2 separate regions of the Homo sapiens genome follow, and region 2 is linked to region 1. Evidence: promoter capture Hi-C in human tissues and cell types (Jung and others, 2019). All regions are on one chromosome and are shown on one strand. Each heading gives the region's core, a stretch centred on a gene start or on the middle of the fragment in contact. The rest is flanking DNA. Distances are from core to core; before and after follow the strand shown.

Region 1 (3,743 bases), core at 1,244-3,743:
CTCAAAGTGTTGGGATTATAGGCATGAGCCACCATGCCCAGCCTAAAATCTCTGTTGTAATGTTAATGCTGGTCAGTTGTGCCTCAATTCCAAAGGGAGGAGAGTATAATGAAACATGCCTAACTTCCACTTCCCATTATGGCCTGAACTATTATCATTGTTGAGGTTAACGTTGGAATGTCTTTGACTGGGAGGAAGGGTCCATTCAGATGGTTGGAGGGGATTAGAATTTTATTTTTAATTTACAGAGGGAAGAGCATAATCAAGGAAAGATTAGTATCTGCTGCAATCCCTCAGATCCTCTCCTCTCAGACCTCAGCTGGCAACTGGAAGCATTGAGATGGCTCCACTCTGGCTCCAGCACTAATGTCTGAGTAGCTGGAATGTCACTTTGTCTCTCTAGACCTCTGCTGCTGTAGCAATTCTGGTTTGAACTAGATGATCTTGTAATTCCCAGATGGGTTCTTCCTGCCTACTGCACAAACAAAATCAATTCAGAGACCATAGCATTGCAGAAAAGAACGAGTTTAACTGACACAAGACCTGCCATGCCACACAGGAGACAGGGTTATTACTCAATCAGTCTCACTGAAGGCTTGGAGGTCGGGGTTTTTCAAAGATAGTTTGGTAGGCAGGCGGCTAGGATATGGGTGCTACTGATTGCTTGGGAATGAAATCATAGTAGTGTGGAAAATGGCCCTCCTGCACTGAGTCTGCTTCTGGGTAGGGGTCACAGGACTGGTGGAGTCACACGTCAGTGTGGGGCCATTCCATAGTCACAAATGCAAAAGCCTGGAAGAGATAGCTCAAAAGATCAGTCTTACATTCCATGATAGTGATGTTAATTACAGGAGTAACTGGCAAAGTTGCAAATCTTGTGACTTCCAGAACAATGGCTGGTAATCCTTTAACTATGCCTACATCTTAGTAGAATTCAGGCCCCTCTCATCCTCCTAACTTGGTGGCCTTTCATTAGTTTTACAAGGGTGGTTTAGTTTTCAGGAAGGCGTATTCTAATTTAAAGTATAAGCTAAATTTATCCAAAAGTTACCTTGGCCCATGCCCAGGAATGAGTGAAGACAGCCAGCCTGTGAGGCTAGAAAGCAAGATGCAGTCAGCCATGTCAGATTTCTCTTACTGTCATAATTTTGCAAAGGCAGTTTCAATTTTTTTTTTTTTTTGAGATGGAGTCTCACTGTCTTACCAGGCTGGAGTGCAATGGTGCGCTCTCAGCTCACTGCAACCTCTGACTCCCTGGTTCAAGCGATTCTCCTGCCTCAGCCTCCTGAGTAGCTGGGATTACAGGCACGTGCCACCATGCCCAGCTAATTTTTTTGTATTTTTAGTAGAGACAGGGTTTCACCATGTTGTCCAGGATGGTCTCCATCTCCTGACCTCGTGATCCGCCCACCTTGGCCTCCCAAAGTGCTGGGATTACAGGCGTGAGCCACTGCGCCCGGCCTAAAAATATTTTTAGTAGTGACGGGGTTTCACCTCGTTGGCCAGACTGGTCTCGAACTCCTGAGCTCAGGTGATCTGCCCGCCTCGGCCTCCCAAAGTGCTGGGATTACAGGCGTGAGACACTGCACCCAGCCCATCTGTCGTTCTTCTCTCTAGACTGTGAGCTCCAAGAACGCAGCACTATTCCTGTAATGCATCTGTGCATGCTTTCCCTTGGTAGACCCTGGAACACAGCAGGTGAATGCTTCAAGGGACAGTCTCAACCCTGTGCACCCTGCCTTAGTGGCTACTGAATGCTTGCATGATTGCATTTGAACCTCACAACAGCCTGAGACGCTGCCAGCACTCAAAAAATTACCTGCCATCTCGCTGTTGAGAAGAGGGGCCTGAAAGAGGCGATCAAGCTGCAAACCCAGGCTCAGAAGCCAACTGCCTGGATTTAAGTTTAGCTCAATTCCTTACCAGATATTTGGCAAGCCACTTAATATTTCTCTCTCTCTCTTTTTTGAGACGGAGTTTTGCTCTTGTCGCCTGGGCTGGAGTGCAATGGCACGATCTGAGCTCACTGCAACCTCTGCCTCCTGGGTTCAAGTGATTCTCCTGGCTCAGCCTCCCAAGTAGCTGGGATTACAGGCGCCCACCACCACGCCCAGCTCTTTTTTGTATTTTTAGTAGACACAGGGTTTCACCACGTGTGCCAGACTGGTCTCAAACTCCTGACCTCAGGTGATCCACCCGCTTTGGCCTCCTAAAGTGCTGGGATTACAGGGCTGAGTCACAGAGCCCGGCCACGCCATTTAATCTCTCCAAGCCTCGTTTCCTCCACTGTACGATGGGGATAGCACCTACTTCAGAGATTGCTACGCCGAATAAAAGGAGCTGGCATATCATGCCTAACATATAACAAGCACGTGATAGAGGTCAGTGACTAGCTTTAGCCTCAGGCCAGCAGCCTCCCGCTCTCCCTACCCTGCGCGCCCCACGTGCCTCCTGTAAACAAGAGAACGCGCAGGCGCCGCAAACCAGCGCCCATTGGTCGGCGTGCCGTCGCCCCGCTGGAGGGAGGACTCAGGCCCCGCTGGCCGCGGGCTCGGTACCCGGTGGGTCGGTGGAGCGTCTGTTGGGTCCGGGCCGCCGGCTTCGCCCTCGCCATGGCGCCCTGGCTGCAGCTCCTGTCGCTGCTGGGGCTGCTCCCGGGCGCAGTGGCCGCCCCCGCCCAGCCCCGAGCCGCCAGCTTTCAGGCCTGGGGGCCGCCGTCCCCGGAGCTGCTGGCGCCCACCCGCTTCGCGCTGGAGATGTTCAACCGCGGCCGGGCTGCGGGGACGCGGGCCGTGCTGGGCCTTGTGCGCGGCCGCGTCCGCCGGGTGAGGACGCGCCGGGGGCGGGGGCGCCAGGCCCGGGTCCAAGGGATAGGAGCTTTGACCTAACATTGGGATGGGGCCTGCCCGCTGGACGAACCGATCTCTGGTGATGGGGAATGGGCAGCGCCGCACGGGCGGGGCCTTGGGCGCCGTCAAGGGCCGACTGTGCCCGCCTCACCTACTCCTCTCTCCAGGCGGGTCAGGGGTCGCTGTACTCCCTGGAGGCCACCCTGGAGGAGCCACCCTGCAACGACCCCATGGTGTGCCGGCTCCCCGTGTCCAAGAAAACCCTGGTGAGTGATGAGGCTCTTGGGGTTCCCCGCCCCGAGGCCGAGTAAAGCAGCAGTTGGATGATGACGGGTCAGGTCAAGACGCAGGGATCTGAGGTAGCTGCTGCCCCACCTTGAGCCACTTCCCAGGCCCCGAGGGCTGGAAACCAAGATGCTATGAAGGGGAGGATGCCCCGGTGCAGGCCGTGCCTCACTGTCCACTGTGATGGGGTGATTGCCTTAGGGGTGGCTCTCATCTGAGGAGCCTCCAGCTCCATCTTGGCCAGATCTTGCTCCCCAGATCCAGATCCAGGCCCCCAGAGCAGCTTCTTCCTCTCCCTCCAGCTCTGCAGCTTCCAAGTCCTGGATGAGCTCGGAAGACACGTGCTGCTGCGGAAGGACTGTGGCCCAGTGGACACCAAGGTTCCAGGTGCTGGGGAGCCCAAGTCAGCCTTCACTCAGGGCTCAGCCATGATTTCTTCTCTGTCCCAAAACCATCCAGACAACAGAAACGAGACTTTCAGCTCAGTCATTTCCCTGTTGAATGAGGATCCCCTGTCCCAGGTGAGGAGCCCTCAGCTTGAGGAGCCCTCAGCTTGAGGAGCCAGCCGCTGCCTCATCACCCTTCTCCCTTCCCTCTGGAGTGGGTTTC
Region 2 (3,743 bases), core at 372-2,871, 320 kb before region 1:
TATTAAAAACTTGCCTATTGGCTGGGTGCGGTGGCTCACGCCTGTAATCCCAGCACTTTGGGAGGCTGAGGTGGGTGGATCACCTGAGGTCAGGAGTTCACGACCAGCCTGACCAACGTGGTGAAACCCGTCTCTACTAAAAATACAAAATTAGTCGGGCATGGTGGTGCATTCCTGTAATCCCAGCTACTCGGGAGGCTGAGGCTGGAGAATCGCTCGAACCCGGGAGGCGGAGGTTGTGGTGAGCTGAGATCGCGCCATTGTACTCCAGCCTGGGCAACAAGAGCAAAACTCTGTCTCAAAAAAACAAAACAAAACAAAACAAACAAAAAACAAAAAAACTTGCCTATTAGGTGGGCACAGTGGCTCATGCCTGTAATCCCAGCACTTTGGGAGGCCAAGGTGGGCAGATCACCTGAGGTCAGGAGGTAAAGACCAGCCTGGCCAACATGGTGAAACCCTGTCTCTACTAAAAATACAAAAAAAATTAGTTGGGCATGTTGGCGCACATCTGTAATCCCAGCTACTCAGGAGGCTGAGCCAGGAGAATCACTTGAACCTGGGAGGCGGAAGTTGCAGTGAGCCGAGATCGCGCCACTGCACTCAAGCTTGGGCGACAGAGCGAGACTCTGAAAACAAAAACAAAAACAAAAAAAAACCCCATGCCTATTGTCTGACGCAGCAATTCCAATTCTAGGTATATGTCCTAGAGAAATTTTTGCACATTTTCTATATGGGGTCAAAGTTATTCATTTTTTAACACTTTTAATCGACTACTTTTATATAGACACAAAAATAGAGCAAATAGTATAATGAACTCTATGTACCTGTCGCCCAGCTTCAACAATGATCATTTTGTCAGCCTATACAACACAGTTCTTAATTGCTAAAAATTGGAAACAACCGCGGCGGGGGAGGTGGCTCATGCCTGTAATCCCAGCGCTTTGGGAGGCTGAGGTGGGTGGATCGCCTGAGGTTGGGAGTGGAGTTCGAGATCAGCCTGACCAACATGGAGAAAACCCATCTCTCCTAAAAATACAAAATTAGCCGGGCATGGTGGCACATGCCTGTAGTCCCAGCTACTCGGGAGGCTGAGGCAGGAGAATCGCTTGAACCTGGGAGGCAGAGGTTGCACTGAGCCAAGATCACGCCATTGCACTCCAGCCTGGGTGATAGAGTGAGACTCCATCTCAAAAAAAAAAAAAAAAAGATGAAACTGCCTTATTTATTTATTTATTTTTTGAGATGGAGTCTCGCTCTGTCACTCCAGCCCAGGCAACAAGAGTGAAACTCCATCTCAAAAAAAAAAAAAAAAATGGGAAACAATCTATTTGTCACTGCCTTAGTCTGGGCTGCTATAACACAATACCATAGGTTCATTAAACAGCAGAAATGCATTTCTCACAGTCCTAAAGACCAGAAAGTGCAAGATCAAGTGTCAGCAGATTCAGCGTCTGGTGAGGGCCCACTGCCCGGTTCATAGATCACTGTGTTCTCACGGACAAAGGGGAAACAGAGTTGTCTGATCTCTTCTGTGAGGCTTCTAATCCCATTCAGGAAGGCTCTGCTACCAGCCGCTAATCTTCTCCCCGAGGCCCCACCTTCTGACACTGCCACATTGGTTAGGGTTTCAGCATAGGAATTTGGTGTGGACACAAACATTCAGGCAATAGCAGTCCCTCATTCGGCATGTACAGATTGCGATATGTCTAATAGAACATTGTGCAGTCATTCGTGAAGTAGGTCTACTGTATTAACATGGAGAGATTTCAAATATATATTGGGTAAAACAAGTTAAAATGATTATATCATTTATGAAAAAAATTAGAACATATGGTTATGGGCACACAAATATCCAGGTGAAATCAACAAAGGGGAAGTAGTAACTCTGCATTGTGGGCCCCCTGGGAGAAAAGGAGAAAAGGACCCGGAATGGTATTAGGAAGAATCACAAAGGAACTGCACCTGTTTGCAGAGTGTGGTTTTTTTTCCCTTTTGGTAAGTTTAACTTTTATTTTATCAAAATAATACATGTGAGACTGGGCACATTAGCTCATGCTTGTAATCCTAGCACTTTGGGAGGCCAAGGCAGGCGGATCACTTGAGGTCAGGAGTTGGAGACCAGCCTGGCCAACATAGTGAAACCCCCATCTCTACTAAAAATACAAAAATATTAGCTGGGCGTGGTGGCGGGTGCCTGTAATCCCAGCTACTCGGGAGGCTGAGGTGGGAGAATTGCCTGAACCTGGGAGGCGGAGATTGCAGTGAGCCGAGATCATGCCACTACACTCCAGCCTGGGTGACAGAGTGAGACGCTCTCAAATAATAATAATAATACATGTGGACACTTCTGAAAGTCAGATTGTACCCTGAGGCTCATTTGCCCCCGCCACCCCTGTCCCACTGCCCTCCCCATGAGTGCCTCCCAGAGGCTGCCCTGCAACTCCTGTTCCCCACGGCATTGCTCTGTTTAGTGGTCTCCTTTGATGGAAGATTGAGCTCACTTTTACTGCCCTCCCCATCTCAAACCCTGCCCCACACATGTACCCACTTTCCCTCCCTTCACCCTGCATGGTTATATAGAAACACTTTTAAGTACATTTTCAGAATTTACATTTTTGTTTTGTTTTGTTTTTTGAGATGGAGTCTCACTCTGTCACCCAGGCTGGGGTGCGGTGTCGCGATCTCGGCTCACAGCAACCTCCGCCTCCTGGGTTCAAGCGATTCTCCTGCCTCAGCGTCCTGAGTAGCTGGGATTACAGGCATGCACCACCACGCCCGGCTAATTTTTGTATTTTTAGTAGAGACGGGGTTTCACCATGTTGGTCAGGGTGGTCTCGAACTCCTGACCTTGTGATTTGCCCGCCTGGGCCTCCCAGAGTGCTGGGATTACAGGTGTGAGCCACTGCACCCAGCCAAGATTTTACATTGTTAACATTAAGTTAATATTCACATCTGAAAATACAGAGTGTCTACTATGGTGGCATTAACTTTTCATTTTCCTGGAGTTGATGTTCATCCCCAGACAAGTTGTGCGTTGCCATCTCCTCTTCATTCTTTCGGAGACACCAGGTAATCTGCCTTTTTGTTTGTTTATTTAAGGCCACATCCCCAGGAGCTGCTGTCCAGGTGCCTGGCGGGTCTCCAGGCCTGTGGACAGCGAGCGACCTGGGCCTCCCTCCCCATCGCCGTGGGAGTTCCCTTTGCCTCCTCTGTGCTGGCTGCCCAGGTGCCTGGATCCCTTGTCTTCCTTATTCTTGGTTTATTTAGTCCTTTGTTTTGTTCGTGCCCATCCCTGGGCTTCTTGGGCAGACAGGCTCACAGGTGGCACACCTCCCAAGGCCTGGCGTGTCTCAAAAGATTGGTATTTTACCCCCACTGGATTAGTAGTCTAACTGGATAGAGGACTCCAGCTTGGGAAGCGTTTTCCCTCCAAAATTGGAGGACATTACTCCAGAAGCTTCTGACTCCATGTCACTGCTGAAGACAGTTGTGTGTGACCCTTGGTCTTCAGAAGTGTGGTAGGCTGGAGATGGCCTCCAAAGGTACCCAGGTCCTAATCCTAGTTGTTACCTTAGAAGGAAGAAGGGCTTTTTCAGATGTGATGAAGGATTCTGACCTGGAAAGGTGATCCCGGATCATCCAGGTGGGCCCCGAATGCCATCACAAGTGTCCTTAGAGGACAGAGACCTATGCTGAGGAGAAGGCGATGTGGAGACAGAGCCAGAGGTGGGAGTGATGTG

Evidence for each region. Contacts are between HindIII fragments. The study calls those that stand out against the background at their distance.
Region 2: a contact is called between a fragment that was not itself captured here and the fragment with the promoter of CTSF in region 1, in 1 of the 25 tissues and cell types used here (mesenchymal stem cells).

The regions. Positions count from the first base shown.
Region 1 is chr11:66,567,356-66,571,098 of GRCh38, reverse strand. It overlaps CTSF (cathepsin F), which reads left to right and starts at 2,493. Exons shown (of 13, transcript NM_003793.4): 1 at 2,493-2,825; 2 at 3,017-3,115; 3 at 3,437-3,655. The coding sequence starts at 2,613. RefSeq lists silencers at 707-1,001, 2,375-2,444. The HindIII fragment of the contact is 11,953 bases long and covers 1-3,743 here.
Region 2 is chr11:66,887,968-66,891,710 of GRCh38, reverse strand. All of the region lies in intron 3 of PC (pyruvate carboxylase), which reads left to right. Among named protein-coding and RNA genes, the nearest start is that of LRFN4, 33 kb to the right of the region's middle. The HindIII fragment of the contact is 4,816 bases long and covers 1-3,743 here.